Linked DNA regions of Homo sapiens: region 1 is linked to region 2. Evidence: promoter capture Hi-C in human tissues and cell types (Jung and others, 2019). All regions are on one chromosome and are shown on one strand. The core of a region is centred on a gene start or on the middle of the fragment in contact, and the rest is flanking DNA. Distances in the headings are between cores, read along the strand shown. Region 1 overlaps ZNF665 (zinc finger protein 665). Region 2 holds the start of ZNF615 (zinc finger protein 615).

The links. Contacts are between HindIII fragments. The study calls those that stand out against the background at their distance.
Region 1: a contact is called between a fragment that was not itself captured here and the fragment with the promoter of ZNF615 in region 2, in 1 of the 25 tissues and cell types used here (aorta).

The regions. Positions count from the first base shown.
Region 1 is chr19:53,162,488-53,170,080 of GRCh38, forward strand. It overlaps ZNF665 (zinc finger protein 665), which reads right to left. Exons shown (of 4, transcript NM_024733.5): 4 at 1-3,860. The coding sequence ends at 1,966. Among named protein-coding and RNA genes, the nearest start is that of ZNF347, 7.2 kb to the left of the region's middle. The HindIII fragment of the contact is 5,852 bases long and covers 140-5,991 here.
Region 2 is chr19:52,004,466-52,011,577 of GRCh38, forward strand. It overlaps ZNF615 (zinc finger protein 615), which reads right to left and starts at 3,746. Exons shown (of 7, transcript NM_001199324.2): 1 at 3,676-3,746; 2 at 2,828-2,865. LOC124904755 (a long non-coding RNA gene) reads left to right here and starts at 3,833. Exons shown (of 2, transcript XR_007067321.1): 1 at 3,833-4,014. RefSeq lists enhancers at 3,507-4,116, 4,177-4,256. The HindIII fragment of the contact is 10,336 bases long and covers 1-7,027 here.

The DNA.
Region 1 (7,593 bases), core at 1,816-4,315, 1.2 Mb after region 2:
CAAAATGTGATTCCAGCAGTTAATGTAAATCCTAGTAACAAACATGGGATTCTGGTTACTTTGATTAAACTTCTTATGCTCGGCCGGCCGGGCACGGTGGCTCCAGCCCGTAATCCCAGCACTTTGGCAGGCCAAGGTGGGCGGATTATGAGGTCAGGAGTTCGAGACCAGCCTGGCAAACATAGTGAAACTCCATCTCTACTAAAAATACAAACATTAGCCAGGCGTGGTGGTGCATGTCTGTAATCCCAGCTACTTGGGAGGCTGAGGCAGGAGAATCGCTAAAACCCAGGAGGCGGAGGTTGCGGTGAGCTGAGATTGCATCACTGCACTCCAGCCTGGGCAACAGAACAAGACTCCATCTCAAAAAAAAAAAAAAAAATCAATCTTTGCTATGCAACAGCTATTGGCATTTGATGGAGAAGGTAGCCTCCACTTTTCTGCATTATTTGTACCACACATCAGTCCCTAATAAGCTATTACTCTCCTCTAATAAAAATCCGAGTGTCTTCCTGGCTCTATTTCATGGTCTACTGGTAGAGAATTTCTTTCTTTCTTTTTTTGAGTCAGAGTTTCGCTCTTATTGCCCAGACTGGAGTGCAGTGGCATGATCTCGGCTCACCACAACCTCTGCCTCCCGGGTTCAAGCGAGTCTCCTGCCTCAGCCTCCTGAGTAGCTGGGATTACAGGCATGCGCCACCATGCCTGGCTAATTTTGTATTTTTAGTAGAGATGGGGTTTCTCCATGTTGGTCAGGCTGGTCTCGAACTCCCGACCTCAGGTGATCCACCCACCTTGGCCTCCCAAAGTGCTGGCATTACAGGCGTGAGCCACTGTGCCCGGCCAGTAGAGAATTTCTTCCCATACCCACAGTGCTCTTCTGTCAGAAGAAGGGCACCTGCAGTGCAATAAGGATGATGAGTGACATCATAGTTCATCATCCTCTGCCCTTTCCAAGTGCTCTCTAATTCAGACTATATTTAATTTTAAAAGGCAGAGTCTTTTTTCTTCAGGAGCTTGGAGAGAAATAATCCTCACCTAATGAAGTGAGTGAGCCCTTCCATCCTTTGATTCTTTCCCGAACAACACCATGTTAGGCGTATAATCATGTATAAAATCAGCACATTGCAAAGTTCTGGTTGGAAGTTATAAATAGTAGCCTTTTCAATAAATCTTAAATACTTCAACAAAACATTTTATAAGCTGAAAGTAATTGGCCATTTCCAAACATCCTACAACCTTTGATATGTATCATGTAATGAGTTTTAACACATTTGGACTTCTGATTATGCTGAAGTATATAATATCAGAGGGTTATGAGGAAACTAGAGACTGAGTTCTACTCTTCCTATGAATCCTCACCTACAGTTGTGGTCCAGGAGTAATAGTCTCAGCATGCATGTTACGTTTGTGTGACTTCATCAAAGATGTATCTTTTGATGCGTATTGAGCTCTGAGACCTGGATAAAGCTTCTGTCATACATAGTATATTCACAGGATTTGAACTCTGATGTCTGTTAATGCTTAAACTCATCAGGAGTTTGCCACAGTCACTGTATTTGTAAGAATTGTCTCAAGAATGAATTCTCTGATGTTGTGAAAGAATTTGTGGCTGAAAAACTGGCCGCACTCCTTTGTAAGGTTACTTTTTTTTTTTTTTTTTTTTTGGAGATGGAGTTTCACTCCTGTTGCCCAGGCTGGAGTGCAATGGCATGATCTCGCTCACTGCAACCTCCGCCTCCCAGGTTCAAGTGATTCTCCTGCCTCAGCCTCCCGAGTAGCTGGGATTACAGGCGTGCACCACCACACCCAGCTAATTTTTGTATTTTTAGTAGAGACAGCGTTTCACCGTGTTGGCCAGCCTGGTCTCGAACTCGAGACCTCAGGTGATCCCCCCGCCTCGGCCTCCCAAAGTGCTGGGATTACAGGCGTGAGCCACCACGCCCGGCGTCCTTTGTAAGGTTTCTATCCACTATGAATTCTTCGATGTTTTGCAAGGTTTGAATTTTGAGTAAAGACCTTGCCACATTGGTTACATTTGTAAGGTTTGTCTCCAGTATGGACTGCCATATGGGTAGTTAGGGTTGAACGAACACTGAAGGCTTTCCCACACTCATTACACCTATAAGGTTTTTCTCCAGTGTGAATTCTTCTATGATTTGCAAGATGTGAATTTTGAGTGAAGACCTTGCCACATTCATTACATTTGTAAGGTTTTTCTCCAGTATGGATGACCTGATGGGTAGCTAGGTTTGAATGTACACTAAATGCTTTGCCGCACTCATTACACTTATAAGGTTTCTCACCAGTGTGAATTCTCTGATGAATTGCAAGGTACGAATTGTGTCTGAAGACCTTGCCGCAATCATTACATTTGTATGGTTTTTGTCCAGTATGTATTGTCTGATGTATAGTTAGGCTTGAATGAACACTAAAGGCTTTGCCACACTCATTACACTTGTAAGGTTTTTCTCCAGTATGAACTCTCCAATGCCTTGCAAGTTGTGATGTTTGACTGAAGGCTTTACCACATTCATCACACTTGTAAGGTTTCTCTCCAGAATGAATTCCCCGATGACTTGCAAGGTGTGAATTTTGTGTGAAGACCTTACCGCAGTCATTACATTTGTAAGGCTTTTCTCCAGTATGAATTGCCTGATGGGTAGTTAGGCTTGATCGCACACTAAAGGCTTTGCCACACTCATCACACCTGTAAGGTTTCTCTCCAGTATGAATTCTTCGATGATTTGCTAAGTGTGAATACTGAGTGAAAACCTTGACGCATTCATTACATTTGAAAGGCTTTTCTCCGGTATGGATGATCTGATGCTTAGTTAAGTTTGAATGCATACTGAAGGCTTTCCCACACTCATTACACTTGTAAGGTTTCTCACCAGTATGAATTCGCCGATGCTTTGCAAGGTATGAATTGTGCCTGAAGACCTTGCCACATTCATTACATTTGTAAGGTTTTTCTCCAGTGTGGATTGTCTGATGGGTAGTCAGGCTTGAGCGAACACTAAAGGCTTTGCCACACTCATTACACTTGTAAGGCTTCTCCCCAGTATGAATTCTTCGATGACTTGCAAGGTGTGAATTTTGAGTGAAGCACTTGCCACATTCCTTACATTTGTAAGGTTTTTCTCCAGTATGGATGACCTGATGTGTAGTTAGTTTTGAATGTGCTCTAAAGGCTTTGCCACACTCATTACACTTGTAAGGTTTCTCTCCAGTATGAATTCTCTGATGACCTGCAAGGTTTGAAGGTTGACTGAAGACCTTTCCACATTCATTACATTTGTAAGGTTTTTCTCCAGTATGGATGACCTGATGGATTGTTAGGTTTGAACGAACAGTAAAGGCTTTGCCACACTTATTACACTGGTAAGGCTTCTCTCCAGTATGAATTCTCTTATGACTTGTTAGCCGTGAGTTTTGACTGAAGACCTTGCCACATTCATCACATTTATAATGTTTTCCTCGATTATTAGGAGACTTCTCAACTTGATTGTATTCATAAATTTTCCCTTCATGTTGAAATTGCTGCAGTTCAGGGAGATGTGACTGAAAGCTTACTCCAAGCTGATTTTCAATATGCCTGTTTCCTGCAGCCCTTCTATCACGTTGAGCTCTTCTACCAGGGAGATTTTCTTTTTGCAACATAAGTACTGTTTTATAATTTCCTTCATCATCTTTCCACTGACACTCAAAGTCGTATGTATTTTTCTGAACTTCCTGGAAGGACAAGCCTACAGTGTCACAGCTTTCAAGTCTCTCCAACTTCACCGTGTAGAACGCTTCTCCCATATTGTTCTTCCCCTTTGGTGGCAAATCCGTGTTTACACATTTACAAGAGATATCTGTAAGATATAAACAACCATAGATTTCCAGTTAACTATAGTAGGTAAATAACTATTTCCCATTGAAAAACCTAATGTTACACCAAAAGTAATAGTTATGTTGAACAGACTTACGATTCTTCAGAACCATAATTTTCCAGAACACAAAAGGAACAGGATTCCTTATCAAAGAAAAGGTGGTAACATGTAATTCAAATAGTAGGGGATCCTAGTTTTAAACATTCTGTGAACAAAACACTCATATTGTGCAAACCCATATTAGCCCTGAAAGGAGTATTTTTCAACCATGACCCAAGGCTACCAATTGGCAGTATATTTTATATGGCTGTCACAGAATTCAAGAGAAATAATTCTTAGATTGTGCCTATTTAAAGCATATTTGTTATGCATAAGTAAATGCTGAAGCACAACATGATATACTCTAATGGCAAATAACTCACAGCAAACATATGTAATGAATAATTAAAGAACTAGTAATTTTGAATTGGAAAACAATAATAGCACTGAAAAAACGAGGAGGAATTCAATTTTAAAATGTCAGAAAAAACTATTTTTCTGAATACCTGTTATAAAACTACATACCCCTATATACCCACACAGAGCAAACATTTTGCAACATTAACAAGTGGTATATAACAGTTATATTTCTTTCTTTCTTTCTTTCTTTTTTTTGAGAAGGACTTTTGCTCTTGTTGCCCAGGCTGGAGTGAGTGGTGCAATCTCGGCTCACCGCAACCTCCGCCTCCCAGGTTCAAGCGATTCTCCTGCCTCAGCCTCCTGAGTAGCTGGGATTACAGGCATGCACCACCAGGCCAGACTAATTTTGTATTTTTAGTAGAGACAGGGTTTCTCCATGTTGGTCAGGCTGGTCTCGAACTCCCGACCTCAGGTGATCCCCCCGCCTCAGCCTCCCAAAGTGCTGGTATTACAGGAGTGAGCCACTGCGCCCAGCCCCAACAGTTGTATTTCTTACAAATGGTAAAAAACCATCCTCTATCAATAATAATCGAAATTAAGAAAATATTTTAGCAACTCAGGATATAAGCAGTAGGCAAGAATTAGTAACCGTGTTTACAGGAAGTTATAGTCTGTGGATTGTCAACAATTTCTCTCTCTTTTTTTTTGGAGACAGAGTCTCGCTTTGTCACCCAGGCAGTGGCGCGATCTCGGCTCACTGCAAGCTCCGCCTCCCGGGTTCCCGCCATTCTCCTGCCTCAGCCTCCCGAGTAGCTGGGACTACAGGCGCCCGCCACCGCGCCCGGCTAATTTTTTGTATTTTTAGTAGAGACGGGGTTTCACCGTGTTAGCCAGGATGGTCTCGATTTCCTGACCTCGTGATCCACCCACCTCAGCCTCCTAAAGTGCTGGGATTACAGGCGTAAGCCAGGGTGCTTGGCCAACAATTTCTCTTGAGAAAAGAGGAGTCTGCCGGGCGCCGGTGGCTCCCGCCTGTAATCCCAGCACTTTGGGAGGCCGAGGCGGGTGGATCACGAGGTCAGGAGATCGAGACCATCCTGGCTAACACGATGAAACCCCGTCTCTACTAAAGATACAAAAAATTCGCCATGCGTTGTGGCGGGCGCCTGCAGTCCCAGCTACTCGGGAGGCTGAGGCAGGAGAATGGCGTGAATCCAGGAGGTGGAGCTTGCAGTGAGCCGAGATTGTGCCATTGCACTCCAGCCTGGGCGACACAGCCTGACTCCCTCTCAAAAAAAAAAAAAAAAAAAAAAAAAAAGAAAGAAAGAAAGAAAAGAGGAGTTCTACTTCAGAACCAGCACAGGATATAAGAACTGGAATATAATTTTTTTTTATGAAATAAAACTGTCTTTATTTGCAGATAACATAATCATCCTTGAGAAAATTCAATATACTCTACAAAAATGCTGCTAGAACTAGTGAGTTTAGCAAGGTTGAAGAATACATTATCAATACCCCAAAGAATCAATTTTATTTCTATATACTAGCAATGAATAATCAGAAAGTTTTCTAAAATGCAGTTTGCAATAGCTTTAAAAACATTAAATACTTAGAGAAAAGTCCGACAGCAGATATGAAGAACCTATACACTAAAAACTATAAAATATTGCAGAGAGGAATTAAAGAAGACCTAAATAAATGAAAAGCTAAATATATCTTGTTCAGCATTTAGAAGACTCAATATTGTTAAAACAGCAACACTCCCCATTTAGCCTATTGATTCAACACAATCCCAACCAAAATTCCAGCATGTATTTTTTGAGAAATTAACAGGCTTTCTAAAATTCATAGGAAAATGGAAAGGATCTAGCATAATTAAAACAATTTTGATAAAGAAGAAAGTTGTAACACTATCACTACCTGCTTTCATTATAAAAGTGTAGTCATCAAGACAGTGTGATTATTGTTGATTAGACAAATATCAAATAGATCAATGGAATGAAATAGAGAATACTGAAATAGACTCACGTTATATAGACAACTGATTTTTGACAAAGAATAAATGGCAATTCCATGGAGAAAAGACAGTCTTTTTAAAAAATGGTGCTGAAACAATTAGATCTTCATATGCAAAAAAACCCTTTTGTTTATACCTCATTCCATATAGAAAAATATACTCAAATAGATCAGATGAAAACCTAATGTAAAATCTAAACCATAAAACTTTTAGAAAACCAACATGAGGAAAAATCTGTGGAGCCCTCGGATCAAGCAAAGATTTCCTAGATATGATACCACAATCATGATCCATAAAAGAAAAAAAAGAATTAATTTATAAAGACACACTGTTAAAAGAATGAAGACTCGGACTGAGGGAAAATATTCACAAAGCACAAATCTGATAAAGACTTTGTATCTGGAATATACAAAGAACTCTCAAAGTTCAATATTAAGAAAACAAAAAGCCCAATTTTAAACATTGGAAAATGATTTGAACATACACTGCACAAAAGAAAATATTAATATATATAGATAATAAGCACATTAAAAGATATTCAACATCATAGTCATTAGGAAAATACAAATTAAACTACTAAATGTTGATTAGAAAGGCTGGAATTTAAAACTAGCAATACCAAGTGTTAACAAGGATGTGAAAAAACTAAAATTCTCACACACTGGTAGTGGGAATGTAAAAGGCTACAACCACTTTGGAAAATAGGTTGGATGGCTTTAAAAAAAATTTTTTTAATGGAAATATTTCTTTTTTTATTATTATTACTATACTTTAAGTTTTAGGGTACATGTGCATAATGTGCAGGTTAGTTACATATGTATACATGTGCCATGCTGGTGTGCTGCACCCATTAACTTGTCATTTAGCATTAGGTGTATCTCCTAAAGCCTATCCCTCCCCCTTCCCCCCACCCCACAACAGTCCCCAGAGTGTGATGTTCCCCTTCCTGTGTCCATGTGTTCTTATTGTTCAATTCCCACCTATGAGTGAGAATATGCGGTGTTTGGTTTTTTGTTCTTGCAATAGTTTACTGAGAATGATGATTTCCAATTTCATCCATGTCCCTACAAAGGACATGAACTCATCATTTTTTATGGCTGCATAGTATTCCATGGTGTATATGTGCCACATTTTCTTAATCCAGTCTATCATTGTTGGACATTTGGGTTGGTTCCAAGTCTTTGCTATTGTGAATAGTGCCGCAATAAACATACGTGTGCGTGTGTCTTTATAGCAGCATGATTTATAGTCCTTTGGGTATAAACCCAGTAATGGGATGGCTGGGTCAAATGGTATTTC
Region 2 (7,112 bases), core at 2,496-4,995:
TCACTGCAACCTCCATCTCCTGGGTTCAAGCGATTCTCCTGCTTCAGCCGCCTGAGAAGCTGGGATTACAGGTGAACGCCACATGCGCTGCTAATTTTTGTACTTTTAGTAGAAACGGGGTTTCACCATGTTGGCCAGGCTGGTCTTGAACTCCTGAGCTCAACTGATCCACCCATCTCAGCCTCCCAAAGTGCTGGGACTACAGGCATGAGCCACTGCACCCGGCCGCCATCCACATCTTGATACTTGCAAAGTATTCTAAGTATAAATGTATAAAGGATACTCAGCAAAAATATCCTTGAGGAATTACATATTACAGCAAATCCTAACGGATATTCTTCAAGCAAAAGAAAGATGACTCCAGTGTAAGCAGAGGAGCAAGGTCTGAAGAGGAACAAAACGGTAAGTAATTAATAAAGCCTAAATCAGTATTGACTGGAAAAATAATACTGATAATAATATATCAGGAAGTTTTAATATATATAGTGTTAAAATATTCCATAAGAACATATAGGCCGGGTGCGGTGGCTCACGCCTGTAATCCCAACACTTTGGGAGGCCGAGGTGGGCAGATCACGAGGTCAGGAGTTCGAGATCAGCCTGACCAACATGGTGAAACCCCGTCTCTACTAAAAATACAAAAATTAGCTGGGCATGGTAGCGCGTGCCTATAATCCCAGCTACTCAGGAGGCTGAGGCAGGAGAATTGCTTGAACCCAGGAAGCGGAGGGTGCAGTGAGCCAAGATTGTGCCATTGCACTCCAGCCTGGGTGACAGAGTGAGATTCTATCTCAAAACAACAACAACAAAAAAGAACATATAAAGTAGGAGGATGGCAAATGAAAACGTATTTTAAGATATCTGCATAGCAGAAGAGTATAAAATACTAATTACCATAACATTAACAAATAAGTTTATATGTTGTTTGTAATCAATAGTGTCAGCAATAAAACTAATTTTTAAAAAATTATTTCCATGTTAAAAGAGAGGTCTATGGTTTCCGTGGCAGCTACTCAACTCTACTGTTGTAGCTCAAAAATGCCCACATACAAAAAAATAGACAAATGATTGTGGCCAGGTCCCAACAAAACTTTATTAACAGAAACAGGTGCTGGGAGATTTAGTCCATGGGCTCTAGTTGCCCAACTGTGAATTTGTGCAGAAAAGCCATATGGTCACCTAAATCAAGAGTCAGTAATATAGTATCCAGGACCTGGACCACCTGTTTTGTAAATAAAGTCTTATAAGAACACAGCTACATGCATTCCATGACATTTCATCTCAGGCTATTATCACATTACAATGGCAGAGTTGAGAATTTGGGTCTAGAATGTCACTCAGTAGAATGCAGTATAAAAAAATAATCAAAGATGACTTTTGAATATAAGGGGCAAATTATCAGTATTTGCCTAATACGTCTGTATTCCTTTAGTCAGGTGGCTGGATACAAAATTTAAATAGAAAAATCCTATATCCTCCTAAAGCATATACAGATCGAGTCAGTATTAAGAGCAGAACCTTTCTTGGGAACAATTTAACATTCTATTGAAAATTGCCAATAAAGGTATACCTGGTAACCCAAAACCCCATTCCTAAAACTTTCTTAAAAGGTAATATTGGCAAAAGTGTGCTATCTGACAGGTCATTTTTACTTTCTTCACTTGATTTTTCATAGGGAAAACACAGGTTTACATCAGAAAAATATTAGCATTCTACATTTAAAATAAAATTGCTGATGGTAGTTCAGTAATATAAGTTTACGGCTTTAAATGTTTTCATTAATAGAAAAAAGAGAGAAACCAGGCGGGAGGAAGGGAGAGAAAAAAATGAATATAAATACAAATTTTACAAAAGACAAAACCAAAAATAATCCTCAGAGATAATCGTGAGGAAAAGATGTTTAACTCCTCTTTTGGCCAACAAGTAAAGCGACACAAGTTATGCCAATCACACAATGAGCAAGAAGCAGAATCAGGGCTGAAAATCCACTTTTGTTTCACTTCAAAATCCACTTTTACTCTACTTTATACCGAACCAAAATTATCTGTAAATCAGATGCCTCCCTATTAAGTAAATAAATAAAGCAATTAAAGGGCTATTAGTAGAATTCTAGTTAATCATATACAGAATTATTTAGAGGAATGGTACTTATGTCTGTAACTTACTTTGAAATATACCAAAATCGACAACAAATAAGGAATGATTCACAAACAGAGGAATGGATGAATACTTAGAAAACCAGTAGAGCTGATCTAATACAATGTTAATGGTAAAAGCTAGGTGGTAGGCATATTGGTATTAACATTAAACTTCTTTCAATATTTCCATAGGTTCAAAAATTTTCACAAAATAATATGTTAGGCAGAGAGAAAAATATTGTAATACTAAGAATTAAGATGACCAAATATAAAATAAATATTTAAAATTAATTTATCTTTTGTTATAGATTATAAGGAAAGGGGAGTCAGAAAGCAATACACTGCAATAAAAGTAATAGTCTAGATTGAAGATTAAAGGCAGGAAAAACAAAATTCATGGATAAATGGATAATCATAAAATGTTCCTAAAAATAATACCTAAACATTTTAAAACATTTCACTTCTATCCAAATGTACGCATAAACTTAATGTGAATGCACTTATAGTACCACCGGCTCAAACAGTAAAAACAACTTCTAAATGTTTATTACATAATATAAAGCGAAAAAGATAATAGTACCATTTACATAATTTATCTGAATTATGAATATTAAGCACATAACATACACGTCTAAAATTGAAATATTCTGAAAATTTGACAAAGGTTATCTTTGAGTAACCGAGCTTACCATGGCAGAGATGTTATCTTACTTGTGTCAGAAAGAACCTGAAAAGAAATATCCAAGAGGATACGCTGGAAACTTGCAGGACAAAGGGTAGAAGCCGCATCTTAAATATAAAACATACTACTTTTAGGTATGCTAGATGACTGATCTCGCCAAAAACTTCCATTTCTGAGGATTCAAGACCAAGGGGTGATGGAAGGTGCCAAAGGGGATTTAAAAACCAGTCGTGGAGAAGGGTCTTGGGCAGAAGGGGAATGCTAATGAGCATCAATTCTGTTCCAGCAGCCAGGGCTGGGGCTAACCCATCACCTGCCATGGTTCCCAGGCCTCCAGAGCTGCAGCCCACATCGGAATCTGTGGCGCTACCACCACCGCCACCGGGATTAATTCCAAAACCTGGATCAGAAACCTCCGTACCTTAACCCCCAAGACAGTTCCTCAATCATTTAGTCCCAAACAAAACCTGAACCATAAACCGATTCGCTGACAAAACAAACCCTCCAGTTCGCAATCACTGAGCCCCGCCAAAGGACAACACCAAAGACACCAGAATGTGACTTGGGCACTCAGTAGCGGATCTCTAGAGATCTTTAACCACAAACTACACGAGGACCCTGTGACTGGTCCCAGAGGTACCCCGATCACACACACACACACCCTATCACGGACCTCTTGTAGTTCCCCTGCGATAGGAATCGGACCCACGCTAAGCTCCTGAAAGAATTCCACTGGCGTCGCCAAACGCTGGCGCCGACAGATACCAGTCCATCACCACTGTCCACGAACACGCCCAGCCACGGACAGAATTTCCTCCCCCGTCACCACAGCGACCACCCAGTGACTGAACTTACTTCCCAGAACTTGGTGGGCTCCGGCCTCATCTCTCGGCCTCCTCAGTGCCTGACGGCGACTATCCAGGGTCGGAGGCGTTCCCAGCGTTTGCGCAGATGCAAGATGGCCGCGCCCTCGTCGCCTTGGCTCCATGGGGGCCGCCATCTTTGAGTATCTGACGTACACAAGGCAAAGGGCGCGTTTTGGCGCTGGTGACCGGGGGTGACCGGGGGTGACCGGGGATGGCCGGGAAGATGAAAGAGCACTGAAACTGTCCCATTTCCTGGCACCTCAACCCTTCATAAATACGGGTCCATATACAGAGGCTCCAGTTTACACAAGACAAAAATGGCGTGGAGGTAAATCCCTTTCAGCAGCTGAATAGAAGGCTAAGATGGCCGCGACGTTTACACTTTGTACAAAGGTTAGGAAACAGTTCCTTGTGAGGGAAAAGGAGAACCGGCCGAGAGGGGACACTTCGGCCAAAGCCAGATTTCTAACAAAGTAGCTTGAAGCGCCTTTTGAACGCAGAAGAGGGCTGTTAGCTACGCTGACGGAACAGGGGTAGCAGTCACAGACTAGGTAATGAAAACGGTTGGAACGTGCCAAAATTATGTTGGGTGAAAGGCATGGGGAAAAGCCAGTAAAAGCCAGAAAGTATAGTTCCCAAGGCGGAGGGGAGAGCCTGGGACCCAGGTGGAGCCAAATATGAGGGCTGGACTCAGGAGAAGTGGCCAGAAATTAAGGGAACAGGACCACTTCAGTGAGAAAAAAAAGGTTGGGAAAGAGGCCGGGCGCGGTGGCTCACGCCTGTAATCCCAGCACTTTGGGAGGCCGAGGTGGGCGGATCACCTGAGAGCGGGAGTTCGAGACCAGCCTGACCAACATGGAGAAACCCTGTCTCTACTAAAAATACAAAATTAGCCAGGCATGGTGGCGCATGCCTGTAATCCCAGCTACTCGGGAGGCTGAGGCAGGAGAATCGCTTGAACCCGGGAGGCGGAGGTTGCTGTGGGCCAAGATGGCGTCATTGCACTCCAGCCTGGGCAACAGGAGCAAAACTCCATCTCAAAAAAAAAACAAAAGAAAGAAAGGTTAAGAAGGAGATCACGTTATACTACGTGTGCCAACCGCGAATAGTATGTGCAAAGTCATGGCAATGCTGAACTGTAAATATAAATCCAACCAAACTTCCTATATTAGAAGAATGAGAGAAAGGAAATGCCTGTGTGAATCTATGTGTGTGATATAGGTATCAGTATATAAATATACAGAGAAATTGTCAAACTATTTTTCAGAGTCAAGTTCGTGTTCCATTTGCTCTTCTCACCCTTGGTATATGAGAGTTTTTCTTTTTTTTTGTTTTTTTTTTGTCTCTTTTTGAGGCAAGGTCCACTCTGTTGCCCAGTCTGGAGTGCCTGGGGAGATCACAGCTCACTGTAACTTGGAACTCCTGGGCTCCTGAATAGCTGGGACTACAGGTGGGCACCACCACACCTGGCTAATTTTTTAATTTTCTGTAGAGACAAGGGTCTCACTATGATGCCCAGCTGGTCTTGAACTGGCCTCAAGCAGTCCTCCCACTTCATCCTCCAAAAGTGCTGGGATTACAGGTGTGAGCCACTTCACCCTTCACCCGGCCTATAAAGAGATCTGAAAAGAAATAAGAAAAAAGATGGGCGCGGTGGCTCATGCCTGTAATCCTAACACTTTGGGAGGCCAAAGCGGGAGGATTGCCTGAGTTCAGGAGTTTGAGATCAGCCTGGCCAACATGGCGAAACCCCATAGCTACTAAAATACAAAAAAAATTAGCTGGGCATGGTGTCTCAGGCCTGTAGTCCCATTTACTTGGAAGGCTGAGGCACGAGAATCGCTTGAACCCAGGAGGCAGAGGTTGCAGTGAGCCAAGATCATGCCACTGCACCCCAGCCTGAGAGACAGAGTGAGACTCTTGTCTCAAAAAAAAAAATAAATAAAAATAAGGAAAAGATGATCAACTTAAAAGCTCCCTAAAATTTTCTATAAATACATGAAGGAAATAAACAGGACACTTTTTTTAATGTAAATGATCCTAAACAATTTAAAAAATACCAGTTTTACTAATATTCAAACAAATGCAAAGTAAACGTGAAATATAAATGTTTTAACCCTTATTAAGATTTGTAAAGATTGAATGACAAATCATATTTAGATTATAAGGCCATGGAACAAAGGCATTCTGTTATGCTAAGCCTCTTTAAGTCTTCTTTTTCTGCATGGTAGGTAATAATGTTGTCAATTACATACTGCTTTAAATGAATTGAGATATTATCATACTGGTCATAATTCGAAGTTCTTAAGCATTACATTATTTCTAGGTATAGGATTGTGTTTCTATATAAATTCGTAAAATGTTTTTGTAGTACAGTCTGTTATTACCCAGTTTAAACTTTTCCTTCTCCTTGAGCCATGAATTTTAAGAATTGATTCAATAGAACTTTTCTTTGTGAGAACAAATATGTGCAAGGATATTTATGGTATTGATCTGACAATTATAAGGAAACAAATACTTTTGTGGTTATTGCATAAATTTATTCTTGCATCTCTATATTCACATCTTTGGATAGTATTCTCCATAGTGACTGACTAATGTGTCCAATAGGACAGTAGCAAGTGTAACACAAATGGAGGTGAGAAATAAGCTTGCTCATCAAGGCTTGCTTGTCTCTTAGAGATCTTCCAACACATTGTAAGAAAGCCCAGACTAGCCTCTTGTTGACTGTGTAAATAAAGGCCTCATCCATTCCAGCAGAAGCCCAAATATGTGAAAAAAGCTATTTAGACCATGCAGCCCCAGTCAAAATCCAACCACTAGAGCCTCCGGCCCAGCAGTCCCAATTGTTACTAAACTCTGTGGACAAACATAATGCCATGAGTGGGTGGGGGTCACCTAATCTGCCATCCAAGTGCTTATCCCTGCTCCTAGCCAAGCAGGACTTGCCAGCTTGGGTGGTGTCCAAGTAGGGAGGGGCCCTCACTCTTGGATCACCATAAGAGTTGAGACAGCTGGGTCTGCAGGACATTGGAAAAGTCGGGTGTGCCTTCCTCTGTAGGGCCACCTGGGAAGGATACAGCTGTCTGCAAACCATGATGTCTGCCTGAGGGAGCCCCATGAGCAGAGGATGCCCAAGGCCTTGGGAACCCACGCCTTGCACTAGATTTAATGACTACCCTGCTGGGTTTTGAACTTGCATGGAACCTATAGCCCTTTCTTGTGGCTTTCTCCCTTTTGGAATGGGAATGTTTACCCAACGTCTATGCCCCCATTGTATCTTGGAAGCAAATAACTTTTTATTTTACAGGCTCATAGGTAGAAGAGACTTGCCTTGTCTCAGATAAGACTTTGGACTTTTGAGTTAATGCTGGAATGAGTTAAGACTTTGGGGACTCTTAGGAAGGCATGATGGTATTTTACAAT